Regions from separate parts of the Homo sapiens genome. Here all the other regions are linked to region 3. The links are contacts of gene promoters, found by promoter capture Hi-C in human tissues and cell types (Jung and others, 2019). All regions are on one chromosome and are shown on one strand. The core of a region is centred on a gene start or on the middle of the fragment in contact, and the rest is flanking DNA. Distances in the headings are between cores, read along the strand shown.

What was found. Contacts are between HindIII fragments. The study calls those that stand out against the background at their distance.
Region 1: a fragment that was not itself captured here is called in contact with the fragment with the promoter of CALHM2 in region 3 in 1 of the 25 tissues and cell types used here (mesenchymal stem cells).
Region 2: a contact is called between a fragment that was not itself captured here and the fragment with the promoter of CALHM2 in region 3, in 1 of the 25 tissues and cell types used here (spleen).

What each region holds. Positions count from the first base shown.
Region 1 is chr10:103,842,680-103,847,280 of GRCh38, forward strand. All of the region lies in intron 1 of SH3PXD2A (SH3 and PX domains 2A), which reads right to left. Among named protein-coding and RNA genes, the nearest start is that of SH3PXD2A, 11 kb to the right of the region's middle. The HindIII fragment of the contact is 7,884 bases long and covers 1-4,601 here.
Region 2 is chr10:103,026,820-103,031,308 of GRCh38, forward strand. All of the region lies in intron 1 of CNNM2 (cyclin and CBS domain divalent metal cation transport mediator 2), which reads left to right. Among named protein-coding and RNA genes, the nearest start is that of CNNM2, 110 kb to the left of the region's middle. The HindIII fragment of the contact is 3,746 bases long and covers 1-3,331 here.
Region 3 is chr10:103,451,120-103,455,668 of GRCh38, forward strand. It overlaps CALHM2 (calcium homeostasis modulator family member 2), which reads right to left and starts at 1,251. Exons shown (of 4, transcript NM_015916.5): 1 at 1,037-1,251; 2 at 1-166. CALHM1 (calcium homeostasis modulator 1) reads right to left here. Exons shown (of 2, transcript NM_001001412.4): 2 at 2,121-4,549. The coding sequence ends at 4,143. LOC124902494 (a long non-coding RNA gene) reads left to right here and starts at 1,324. Exons shown (of 2, transcript XR_007062275.1): 1 at 1,324-2,117. RefSeq lists enhancers at 1-293, 242-862, 863-1,484 and a silencer at 1,323-1,652. The HindIII fragment of the contact is 12,335 bases long and covers 1-3,809 here.

The sequences.
Region 1 (4,601 bases), core at 1,256-3,755, 390 kb after region 3:
TAACATAATGACCTCCAGTTCCATCCACGTTGCTGCAAATGACAGGGTGTCATTTGTTTGTTTATTGTTTCCTTTCCCACACCAGAATGTAAGCTCTAAACGGGCAGGGATTTTTATCTGCCCTGCTGTGTTCCCAGCGCTTGACACATAGTAAACATTCAAATATTGACTGAATGAAACAATGAATGAATGAATATGAGTAAGTATCAGCTTGCCAAAGGCTGAACAATCCAAGGTCATTCTTGGTAAGTGTTAAATGAGAGGTAAAACAGTTAACATTATAAAAATTCGTAGACTGGAAATGTCATTTTAAGATGAGAGGTCAGGGAAGCTTCCAGGAGATGGCAGAAACTGAGCAAAATCAAGAAGGATGATAACGCTGGTGATAGCAATAGTGCCGTTTATGGAACAGTTATCATATGAGTAACAACCATATGGGTTAGGTAGTAGTATTATTATACCCATTTTACTTAGGAAACTGAGGCCCAGGAGGTGAAGAAACTTGGCCAAGTGAAACAAGCTAATGAGTGGCAGGGCTGTGATTCATAGCCAGCTTCAGAGCCACAGCCCATGACAGCAGCTGCCGATGCTCTGCCCCTATCCTCTTGCCCTCAACTTCCAACTGCTGGCACCCAAGTCCCTCTCTTAGTGCTTACTCTGGTTTCCAGAGCCTGGTTTTGCCTAAGCAAGCATGGGGCTGAAAATACCAGGAACTTAAACTCCTCCATGCTCCCTACCACAGTGCCATGCTATCCACCATCCCCAAGAGGAGGATGTGGAGACTGGCAGCTGAACCCTCTGAAGGGCCAGGCCTTCAAAAGTGGCCCTGGGCAAGAGTTCAAGGGGAATACAAATTTGAACCTGCAAATAGAGGCCAGACCTTGGCACAGATCTGTTCCTATAGCAAGCTTGTTATCATATCTTAACATCCGCTCCAACCACATCATGTTTTCAGGGAGGGGCTCAGAGGGAGGGTCACATGGGCAGGTGACCTGGGGTTTAATTCAGCCCTTTGGGGTTTTATCCAGGACCTATGTGACGAGCTCCCTAGCTCCCCATCCCCTAGGGAAGCTGTCAGATAAAGCCGTCGGGCTTTGTTCCTGAAGAGATCTGGGATGCAACCCTGGCTCCCACTGTTGCTGCCAGTGATGGGGCAAGATGCTGCACCTCCCTGAGCCTCAGTTTCCTCCCCTATAAAACACAGATGATGACCAGGGTTTGCTGTGGGGATTAAATGAGACAAGTGCCTGCATCTAAAATGGACTCCACCCATACATTCTCTAACCTGACATCCCCACTTCCCCTGCCTGGGAGCTGCCACGTTCAGAAATAACAAAAAACATGAGGCTGCTTGCTTCAAGTTGCCAATGAGTGATGACTAAAGTCAGTAATTAATCCCAGCTTGAGACCAAAGTGCAGACATTGTTCTATTACGGACCTTAACTCTGCAAGAGAAGCATCAGTTTGCCAGCCCACTGAGGCTCTGACCAGCAGAAATCCCTGGGCTGCCACCTCTGGGAATCTCACACTCATCAAGAAGTGATTCTATCCCTTCTGGGTGCCAGGCACTGCGCTGAGGGCTCAACTAATCTGTTCCAGCCCAGGAGGCAGAATTCAGGACAGAGTTTCACCCTCTCGGAGCTCCACTGCCAGCCCCATGCCAGGCCGGCCAGGCCTCCTCCTCTGTTGTTACAGAGAGAAATTCTCCCACACAGGCAAGTCCCTTAAAATAGCCTTTTGGGTCTGGGCCATCAGGAAATGGGATAACGCTGGGTCAGAATTGGGCCTATCATGAAAGAGTTTACAAAGCAGTCACTTCAAAGGACAGGGACAATCCCTATATGCTCTGAACACTTAGATGGGCAAAAGCAACCAGGGCAAGTTCCCCATGAGGAGCACCTTCTCACAGAAGCCCCTGTAGCCCTGGGTGCCCTGAAAAGGGACCAAGTGTGTAAGACACAGTGATGGTGTAGAACCAGGCGCAGGCTGGGGAAGGGGAGGGAGGTCACATCTGCCTGGGTTTGTGCTTTCTTAACAATGCTACCTGCACTCTCCAAACCTCAGGTTCCATATGAGTCAAATGGGGTTAAAAATGCATACCTTCATGGCCACCCTGGGGCCAGAGGTTATAAATCAAAGGCCATGCAATGCCTGGCACAAAATGGGAATTCAATATGTGGTAGCTGTGTCAGAGGCATGTGAACCAGAGCAACTCCATCTTGAATAAGGGCTGGGTAAAACAAGGCTGAAACCTACTGGGCTGCATTCCCAGATGTTTAGCCATTCTAAGTCACAGAATGAGACAGGAGGTCAGCAGAAGATACAGGTCATAAAGACCTTGCTGATAAAATAGTATGCAGTAGGCTGGGCGTGGTGGCTCACACCTGTAATCCCAGAACTTTGGGAGGCTGAGCCAGGCAGATCACCTGAGGTCAGGAGTTCGAGATCAGCCTGGCCAACACTGTGAAACCCCATCTCCACCAAAAAAAAAAAAACAAAAAATTAGCCGGGCATGGTGGTGTGCGCCTGTAATACCAGCTACTCGGGAAGCCGAGGCACGAGAATCACTTGAACCCAGGAAGTGGACGTTGCAGTGAGCCAAGATTGCGCCTCTGCACTCCAGCCTGGACGACAGAGCGAGACTTCATCTCAAAAAAAAAAAAAAAGAAAAAAGAAAAAGAAAAAGAAAAAAAGGGAAAACAGCATGCAGTAAAGAAGACGGCTAAAACCCACCAAAACCAAGATGGCAACGAGAGTGACCTCTGGTCATCCTGACTGCTATACTCCCACCAGCACCATGACAGTTTACAAATGCCATGGCAATGTCAGGAAGTTACCCTATATGGTCTCACAAGAGGAAGCATGAATAATACACCCCTGGTTTAGCATATCATCAGGAAATAACCATAAAAATGGGTAACCAGTGGCCCTCGGGGCTGCTCTGTCTATGGAGCAGCCATTCTTTTATTCCTTTACTTTCTTAATAAACTTGCCTTCACTTTACTCTATGGACTTGCCCTGAATTCTTTCTTGCTGGAGATCCAAGAACCCTCTCTGGGGGTCTGGATCGGGACCCCTTTCCTGTAACAGCTCTATGATGATGATGGTGATACAATACGTGCCAAGGTCTCCTTTAGTGAGAGTACGCCTCAAAAAAGGAAAACAACGTAGGTTCTCCATCAGGGACCACACAGTGATAGGCAAAAGTGCAAACCAGCCCACACTCCATCAATCCCTACCCCACCTGGTACACCCTGCAAGTTCATTCTCAACATGGGGCATTACTTCCATTCCTGACTCCCTGAAGTTGTGGTCAGATCAGGTAAGAGTGATCAGTTTCCAACAGGTCTAAAGTTCATGCTCCAGGGATCCCAGAAACAGGCTAAATTGTCCCACCCGCCCCACTGCATAATTTATGCTGCATTGACACACACACACAGAGTCTACCCCGACCCAGCCATGGGCCTCCGCCCAGGCTTGGGGAGGGTGGCTTCCTCGCCAGCCAAAGGGAAATGACAGCACAGGGACAGAGAAAGCAGCCCAGTGGAGTGGCAGAAACCACAGCTGTTTCCCCTTTGCTAACTCAGCCACTTAGATATCACTTCCTCCGCTCAGGTAACAGCAGGGAGAGATGGGACTGGGAATAACTCTGTCTTTTCCTGTTCACAAAAAAATGATTGGTTTGGAAAGAAGGAAAACCAGAGGCCGTTTTCTAGAAGAGATCTTCACTAAGAGCCTAAGTACTCCTGAGTCGACTCTGTCTATGAGGCTTCTCAGGAGAGGTGGCTGGGCAGGTGAACCTTGTTTAAAAATTCCCTGGGGTCAGGAACAACTCACTTTGTATAGCATCCCTGCCCTAGATAATTAAGAACCCAGACTGGGGGATCAAGGGACCTCCTCACACAGCTATCATCTCTGGGCTCAGTGCTTTCCAAAGCAGCTGTTATACCTGCCCTCCGCTCTGCAAGGCAAGCCTGAAAAGAAACAGTTGCACCATTTTCTAGATGGGCAAATGTAGTTCTAGAAGGGGGAGGTGACATGTGGAAGATCTCACGGCTTGAGGAGCCAACCAACTAGGCCTAAGGTGGAACCATGGAGCCCAGGCATCCTGGGTGTGTAATGTGTCATTAAGCGGTCTCTGTGGGGACAGGGCAGGCTTTGGAGCCAGCAGACCTGGGTCAGTGCAGGCCTCTCCACATGCAGCTCATCAGCTGCGTGGCATCTGGCAATTCATTTGAGCTCTCTGAGCCTTTGTGCTGTCACCTGTACAGTATGGATGCTGGTGGGAGCTACATGCTGCGTGGGGCTGTTCTGAGAACATCCATATGAGATGCTTAGCACATAGAAAACATTTAGAAAGGTCAGCTGTTATTTTTATTGTTACATTTTCCCTAAGAATAAGGTTTACTAGACTATCTGGGAGTGTGGTAGAGGTCAAATAAATGAAGAGGTAGTTTGAAGCATTGCATTTACTTATTTGTTTTTAGAGACAGGGTCTTGCTGTTGCCGAGGCTGGAATGCAGTGGCATAATCATAGCTCACTGCAGCCTCCAATTCCTGGGCTCAAGTGATCTTCCCACTTCAGCCTCCCGGGTAGCTAG
Region 2 (4,489 bases), core at 209-2,708, 420 kb before region 3:
GTCTAACATGTTGTAATTTTCCTTGCCTGTCTTCCTTGGTCGACTTCCAGTTCCTTGACAGTAAGGAAATCAGTCTTGTATGTGTTTGAGTTTAATCGCTGGTGCATGGTACAGTGCTTAGCATATAGTGAGTGCTCAAGAAAAATACTTGTTGAATGAATTCATGACTGGCCATATTGACCTCAAGTGAATTCTAATCATAAACATGGAAACCTTTGCAATATCTTTAAAAATGTCAAGGTTGGTATGGCCATTGCACATAATTTATTATTTCATTGGCTTTTCCCCTTCTCATTCCCTCAGTCTTTGAGTCTTTCTCTGCTCTGTGCCAACTTCCTTCAATTTATTGTGTATTACAAGCTACCTGTGTTTATTATCATTCCAGTTTCCTGACAAAGATGCAAAAAGAATGTGTAGCAGTTTGGCTGCAATGGCGCTCTGCCCAAAGAGAGATGAGATTCTTAGGAAAATACAAAGTAGTTCCTTAGTTCTCTATTCTAGAGCTTAACCAATCCCAGGAACTGAAGTCTTCTGTTTCTTCACAGAGGAAATATGACAAAGGCAGTGGCTGTACAAGCTTCCTTCATGGGCCGCCCTCCCCACTGCCTCATCCAGTAAGCGGGAGCAACTACTTCTAGAGGTGAGAGGGGAGGGAGGACAATCTCCATAACCCATTCGATGCACCCAGCTGCAAAATTTTGGTATTGAGAAACTGAGCAAACAATTTGTAGAGTTGCTATATTGAACTTTAAAGCAAAATAAGCCTACATAGGATTGAATGCTCAGGTGATACAAATGATGGTCTTTGATAGAAGCCTACAATCTATATTTTGAAAGAAGCTACTTATAGCTGTATAATTCCAATAATCCCAAGATCCTGTTTCTATAGATATTAAAAGGTATTATGCATGTACATTTGAGATGATTTTTAGCTTCCTAACCCATGAGAAAGTTCATCAGTAATATAATCATTATCATTTATTGAGCACTTACTATGTGCCAGGCACTATTTAAATTGTTTTTTCATTTGATTTTTCAATTTTTATAGTAAACATAGGGTATATCTCCATTTACAGACGGTCAAAGTGGGAGGCCATGAGAAGGTAAATGACTTGCTCTCAGTCACACAGGTAGTATGTAACAGAGTCAAAGCATCTACACCCATACTTGTCTAATTTTAAAGTTCTTAATCACTGATAGTATGCCTAGGGTCCTGTCACATATTTGAGCTCTTAAAATCTGTGCCTTTTTTGATGAGGGGTCAGTGACCGAGAGCAGCCTAGATCTGCTGAACATTGTATCAGGAACTGAGGTGATGTTCCATAAGGCATTTGTAGTGCGTACTCACAGAAAGCTTAAGACAGTTTGTCATTTTTACCAAGGACCAGGTCCCTCAAAAGGATGGTCTGTTTCTAAGGTTCTTTACGGAAGCAAATGAATGTTGAGTTCTTTTGGCCATTCATTCGCTCATTTATTCATCTAGTCATTCAGTAAACACTTATCTTTTTTTACTTGACAACTCATTGTATTTGAGTATCAGAGTCTCGGTTTTCAGGTTGAATTCATGTTTTGTGTTTATAAGAAGATAATGAAAATTCTTGAAGACATTCTCAAGCACAACAGAGGAAGGAGCACAGGGTTTGATTTCTACTTGTTTTTCAAGTGGGCTTCATCTGAGAACAAACTCTATTGTAACCTTTCTAGAATTTGGTGCCAATAAGAGTTAAAATAATAAAATCAGTACAATTAAATAGGAAATGAGTGTCTTTTATGTACAAGGCCTTAGATTAGGTAACAACAGTTGGTCATTCCTCTGGGAAATGGTTGCTAAAATTATAATCAACTGGCAGTCACTGATTGGCCTTGTTTACTTCATTGTGTCCCAGGAAAAAAAAGACAATCTCCTCTTATGACAAGATCTTGCAGAGATAATACCATTTCCGCCATAATCTTCATCCCCCTCCCATTTTCTTCTTTCTTTTCTTTTTCTTTTTCTTTTTTTTTTTTTCTTTTTTTTTTTTTTGAGACAGTCTCGCTGTGTCACTCAGGCTGGAGTGCAGTGATGTGATATCGGCTCACTGCAACCTCCGCACACCAGGTTCAATCGATTGTCATGTCTCAGTCTCCCAAGTAGCTGGCATTATAGGCGTGTGCCACCATGCCCACTAACTTTTGTATTTTTAGTAAAGACGAGGTTCCACCATGTTGGCCAGGCTGGTTTTGAACCCCTGACCTCAAATGATCCACCCGCCTCGGCCTCCCAAAATGCTGGGATTACAGGCATGAGCCACCGTGCCCGGCCCCCACTCCTATTTTCTTAAGATTAATTTGAGCTATTTAGTTAAGCTTTATTAAAAGTATTGGCCAGGCATGGTGGCTCACACCTGTAATCCCAGTACTTTAGGATGCTGAGGCAGGTGGATCACCTGGTCAGGAGTTCAAGACCAGCTTGGCCAACATGGCGAAACCCCATCTCTACTTAAAAAAAAAAAAAAAAAAATAGGCGGGCGTGGTGGCCAGCACCTGTAATCCCAGCTCCTCAGGAGGCTGAGGAGAATCACTTGAACCCAGGTGGCAGAGGTTGCAGTGAGCTGAGATGGTGCCACTGCACTCCAGCCTGGGTGACAGAGCAAAACTCCGTCTCAAAATAAATAAATAAATACATAAATAATCTACCAGACACTGTGCTAGTTTCTAAGGCTTTAGATGTGAAAGAGAACCCTTCCTTCAATAATCTCACAGAGGACTAAAAATTCAGAGGAGCCAGGCACGGTGGCTCACGCCTGTAATCCCAGCACTTTGGGAGGCTGAGGCGGGTGGATCACGAGGTTCAGGAGATAGAGACCAGCCTGGCTAACACGATGAAACCCCGTCTCTACTAAAAATACAAAAAAAAATTAGCCAGGCATGGCGGCACGTGCCTGTAGTCCCAGCTACTAGGGAGGCTGAGGCGGGAGAATCCCTTGAACCTGGGAGGCGGAGGTTGCAGTGAGCCAAGATCACGCCACTGCACTCTAGCCTGGGAGACAGAGCAAGACTCCGTCTCAAAAAAAAAAAAAATAATCTCAGAGGAGAGTGAGATAGTTATTAATACAGGGTAATAAGTGCCCTAATGGAGCCAATGAAGGCTTTGTGGGAACAGTGACAGGCACCAAACCCAGCTGGTCTAGGTGAGGTTAGGAAGACTTCCAAGATGAGATGATGCTTACATTGAATATTTGAGGGAGAATAAGAGTAAAGAAGCCAAGGGGAGGCCAGTGTTTATGGCAAAGAGAACAGTGAAATAGCATATCTAGTTTGGGGAATTGGAAAATGTATGCTCTTGGATGGAATGAGCAAAGCTATGGGAGATGTGGCTAGAGAAGGATCCCATCATGACGGGCTTTGAATGCCATCCCAAAGAACTTAAACGTTCCTAAATGCAGTGGGAAGTTATGGAAGAATTTTAAGCAGAGGAGTAACATGTTCAGATTTGGTCTTTAATAAGATTACTATGGCATCAGTGAGGTGGCCTTGAGGAAATTACATTAAAGTTAGGTACATTAGAAGTAATGAGGACTTGGAATTTAGGTGAACTGGTGATAGGGATGGAGACTATGAAATAATCAATATTGGCTGGACATGGTGGCTCATGCCTATAATCTCAGCACTTTGGGAGGCCGAGGCAGGTGGATCACTTGAGGTCAGGAGTTCAAGACCAGCCTGGCCAACACGGTGAAACCCAGTCTCTACTAAAAATACAAAAAATTAGCCAGGCGTGGTGGCACACCTGTAGTCCCAGCCACTTGTGAGGTGGGAGAATTGCTTGAGCCTGGGAGGCGGAGGCTGCAGTGAGCTGAGATCATGCCACTGCACTCCAGCCTGGGCAACAGAGTGAGGCTCCCTCTTGGCAGGGGGGGAAGTCGATATTTAGGAGGCAGTCTTAAATTTAGAACCTAACACAATGTTAGGTACCAATATGTCATAGCCGGATGAAACTAGAGGGAAAAGAGGCATCTAAGTTGACTTTCACAGTTTCACATTTGACCTTTACAGATGTCATTAGTATAAGGATTAGAAGCAGGGAAACAGGTTTTGTGAAGAAGATGATAGGTTTAGTTTTGGACATGTTGAACTTAAGATGCTTATTGGACAAGAGGAGGAGGAGGACCAGATGGACAGATGGAATATTTTTATATCTGAGGTTTAGATGAGACTGGGATGGTGGAGTATGTAGATTTTAGGGTTTTCAGTCTGTGCTTTATGCTCCCTTTGTTGTAGTTACTCAATTAGTGCATCGTGAAAAGCATATTACCACAAAGCTAATGAAGCTAAAGCTTAAGTGCTCAGATGTGTGGGCTGCTTCCAAGGCCCTGGGAAGACCCCTAGCAAGTTTTACATGTTTATGTGTATTTGTAAATTTTGAAAAATCGGAAAGTTTACTGTGGGCCAAAATTACTCTTTCCACATTGAGTTACCCTCTCTTACTCTTGTGTGTGGCAATGTTGGA
Region 3 (4,549 bases), core at 1-2,500:
CTCTTCCGCAGCCGTGACCCCTCTCCTATCCAGCAGCCTCCCAGCAGCTCCGCTCCACCCCGCCTGCCAGCAACAGGAAGCCCTGGTGAGACCAAAGGCTCAGCGGTGCCACCAGCTCATCCGGAGATTATTCTGCCTTGGTCTGGGCTGTAGCGACGCTGGCAACCTGCCGGGAAGTGGCCATGGCCTCGGGCAACAGCGAAGTTTAGCCCAACTCCCTTCCCAGCCTCCACCCACACAAGCCTGAGAGACAGGCCAGGGTGTGGCCCCATGTCCTCCCCCTCTGGAGGGTGAAAAACAAAACTCCCCAGGCCAGAGGAAGCCAGGGAGTGGAGGGATGGGGTGAGCGCCAAACACAGACCTAGCCCTGTTCCCTTCCATGCTTCATGGAGGGATCACCCCTTCTAGATCACCCCTTCTGTCCCTGCCAAGGAAGGCTGCCAGATGGGCTCAGGCAGAGCCATGTGGCCATGCAGACTCCAAGAAAAGGAGAAGCTGGAGGAGGAGGACCAGGAGGAACAACAGGAGGAGGAGGAGGAGGAGGAGGAGGAGGAGGAGTCTGATTCTTCCCCCACTTCACAGCCTGGAGCTTCCAGCCTAACTTCCTGGGAAAGGCAGTTTGCATCACTGCTGGGGAAGAATGGGTTAAAGTCAGCCCCCTTTGCCCCATCCTTTTCCCTTCTTGGCTTCTAGGCTCCTAATTAGCTCCCTGTGGAGGCCCTGGGTTCATAAACTGGCTCAAAGTGGGGTACAAGATACCTGCACAGGGTGGGTGGTGAGCAGAGGATGGGCCAGGCCATCTTCTGAGACCACTGCCCCCAGGCCAAGGATGGGTCACATCCAGACCCCCAGTGGGACCTCCTCCAACATCAGTGACGACAGGAGACTGGCGGCTCGGGGAGGGGCAGGACTGCTCCCTGTTCAACCGGGTGGAGGGAACCTCAGCTAGGGGCCTCTCTCCCTCTGGGCAGCGTGGGACAGGCCCCACCATGCTCCGCTGACACCTGGCACACCCCAGGGAGGGCCCCTTCCTTACCTGGGGCCAGCTGTGGGCACTTGTGGCCATGGCCTCCTCGGGGCCGGACTCTCCAAGTGGCCTCCAGGAGGGCGGTGCAGGGCAGCGGCGGCCTCCGCCGTTCCCTCCCGCTTTTCTTCTGCACGGGGGCCTGGGGCTGGTGGCGGCTTCAGACTAATCTAACTCCAGAAAAGAGAGAAGAAAACAGTGGGATGGAGTCTGCGCGCCAGTGAGTGGAAAAACAGCCTCCCGGCGCCACCAGGCAGAGGAGGGCGGGCCCCGAGGGCGGCGCGAGAGGAGAGGAGCCGAGAGGAAGTTGAGATGCCTGTTCTGCAGCTGCTGCGCGTCCCACCGACCCGCTGCTCGCCGTCCCTGGGCCGTGCTGGCCCTCCGCCCTCGGCCCAGACCCGGACCGGGCCATGCTCCACACCAATGGGACCAGTCGGGAGGGCCACGTGGGGATGTGGAGGCATTGGGGAGATCTGACCCAGACCTGCCCCCCATGACAGTTTCAAGAGCACCCCACGTACTTGACCCCCGCTGGGCAGAAGCTACCAAAGGAGACCCCGCGAGGGTCAAGGGAGGGTGTCGTCAGGCCCGCGCTGAGCCCTGCAGGATGCTCAGGGCCAGGGCCCCACCCTCTACTGGCCCTTCTCCCTCAGAGTTGTCCATTGACTGGACAAACCATCCCCAATGCTGACTCTTTGACCTATAGTCAGCTAACTCCCCGGGACCTGCTTCGGATCCCTGGAGGGCTGAGGATTGAATTCAGGAGCCTAGGGATTCTCCGGGTCCTGCAGGCAGAGCTCCAACTGGTGGGTGAAAGTTACAAGGAGGCAGGTTTCTGAAGGAAGCCCTGTGTAATAATCAGAGCTGCCCAGCCTGTATCTAAAAGTGGTCAAGATGCGGGCTGAAGCGTCACGGGTCAGGAATGCTGCACAGGAGAGTCTACGGACAGGCTAGATGACCCTTAGCATGGAGGGAGAGGACCCCCGACATCTGTCAGCTCTGCAGTGCTCGTGGTTCCGTCATGGTGGAGCTGCCGAGTGACCCGCTGGCCTCCCTGAGCTGGGCTTGACCATATGTACGAAGGAAAGAAAAGGTACCAAGTTCTGCTTGTTTATTTGTTTGTTTCAGATCCCAGCATGTGCTAAACACAGTCCCAGATCCTTCCCTAAAAGTTATCTTCCTCTATCCTTACCACAATCCTGAAAATCAGGTCTTTTTTAAAAAATAATTTTTTCATTTTAAAAAAATTATAAATCTTCTCTTTATTCTTCTTCTTCTTCTTATTATTATTATTACTTTACAGAGACAGAGTCTTGCTATGTTGCCCAGGCTGGTCTCCAACTCCCAGGCTCAAGTGATCCTCCCTCCTTGGCCTCCCAAGTGCTGGGATTACAGGCATGAGCCACTCCGCCTGGCCAAGCAGGTCTTCTAATATCCATTTTATAGACAGACACACTGAGGCTTAGAGTGGCTGGGTGACTGGCCACAAGTCCTGCAGTGCTGGTATTTGAACTCAGGTGTGCCTGACCCAAAGCTTTGCTCTTCATCACATTTGTACCTCCTGATACCTCCGGGCCTTCTCTTCCCACTGGAAGTGCTGCCACCCACCAACATACACCTTGTTTTTTGCTCATCCTAATCCTCCCTGACTTCAGGGCCCATACCAACTCCTACCTCCTGGAAGAGCCCTCCCAGCCCACCTTGGCCCACAAAGATCTGAGCAACTCCTCCCAAATAATTAAGAGGAGGGAAACTGGACCCCAGAAGTGGGAATAGAGGGAAGGATGGATAAAAAAGGATGGAATCATGCCAAGATCAAAATGAATCCTTAGATGCTTGGGACTTATGTCTCAGAGCTGAGGGCGGTGCTGAGAAACCTATCTGTACCTCTGTTTCCTCCTCAACAAGATGGAAGCTCGAGTGTTTGTGTTGCTGTCTCATCCCTGCCCAGGGGAGGAGGAAGGAAGTCCTTAGGTTCAGAAATCAACAAATACATTAGCCACCCTGTGCTGGGTGCCTACTATGTGCCATGTGCTTTTACACACAGCAACCCCATGATGGCGGGCCGGGGGGGCCTCATCCTCATTGTATAGATGAAGAAACGAAGGCACAGGCAGTGATGCAGCTGGCCCAGGGACAGGGTTTGTGAGTGGTAGAGACACCATTTGACCCAGTTCTGTCTCACTCTGGAATCTGAGCTGCTTTCTCTTTACACTGCTCTCCTCCACCCTCATCCCACCTGGGCTAGAGCCTTGGAGCTCCTCTTAGCCTCTTAGAACTCCATCCCCAAGAGGTGGGGTCTTTGAGAAAAATGGAGAGACTTCAGCTTCTGTGTCTAACTTCTCAAGCCTTGGGGATGGTCTGATTTCCCCTGGAGACCTGGATGTGACGGGGGTATTAAGGTGGTTTTTCAAAGACCCCTCTACAGGAGGACTTTTGTGCTTGGTTTGTGCTAAATAAACATGCAGTCCACCTGGACAATTGTCACATGACCCCCATGGTGACCACACACTCTGACCTCTTCCATGTGAACCTAGCTTCTGACATCTTGTCTCATCGCCTGTCACCCCAGGTGTGTCACACCAGGTAGGCTGTGTGTCATGTCCTTATGGACCTGCCCCGGCACACCCAGTCTCACCTACGACACGCTTGCCCAAATCAGAGGGCTCCCACTTCATGAGACGCCTGATGATTCCCACTCCCCGAGCCCGGAGCATAAAGGAAGAGAGGTACTGAACAGCCACAGACGAGGGTGGACCCTGGGGCAGGGATGTCTGTTGAACCTGGGAGGAGACAGTGAACATCAGCCTGGGAAGGGCTGGGCAGAGGGGAGCCATTGGTCCCTGTACCTGCCATGACAGTTCCGACCCCTTTAGACTAATACTGCTCATGGGCCCACTGCCCTAGGGCCATCCAGGGCAGTGTCACACCTGAAGGCATCAGATCCCCTTCCAGCTCCAAATTTCCTGCCTCCAATGGGCAGGCGAGTGCTAGGGAGTGTGGATCTGCCTAGGGGAGTACTGCCCAGCACTGAAACCCTTCCTTTTTCCACCTGGTTTGGGGGTTGGAGGGGCTGTGGGCTCAGATCCCCGTTCCTGCCTCTTCAGCTGGCCACACCTCACACTTTGCTGAAGTAGGTGGCCACCTCCTTACGCGGAGGCCGGGGCCCACCCCCAGCCCAGCCGTTGCCCATCAGCGGTGGCTCCTCCTGGCCCAGCCGCAGAGGCGGTTTGCATTTGTGCCAGCTCGTGAGCAGCCTGTTCATGGTGCCTTGATCCGTGATGCCACGCAGCTTCTCCCTTTCCTCCTCCGCACCATCGGGGGTCGTGGGGGCAGCTGCGGAAGCAGGGGCCGTGGCCAGTGTCCCGTGGGTGTGACCCAGCTCCAGGTCATGGTTCATGGCCTCGAAGAACTGCTGGATGCAGACCTTGGCAAAGGCTTTGGCGTGCTCCGTGCACGTCTCGTCGAAGAGCTTGCGCTCGATGTCGATATAGTGGGACCAGTACTTGCTCTTGAGGAAGGCGG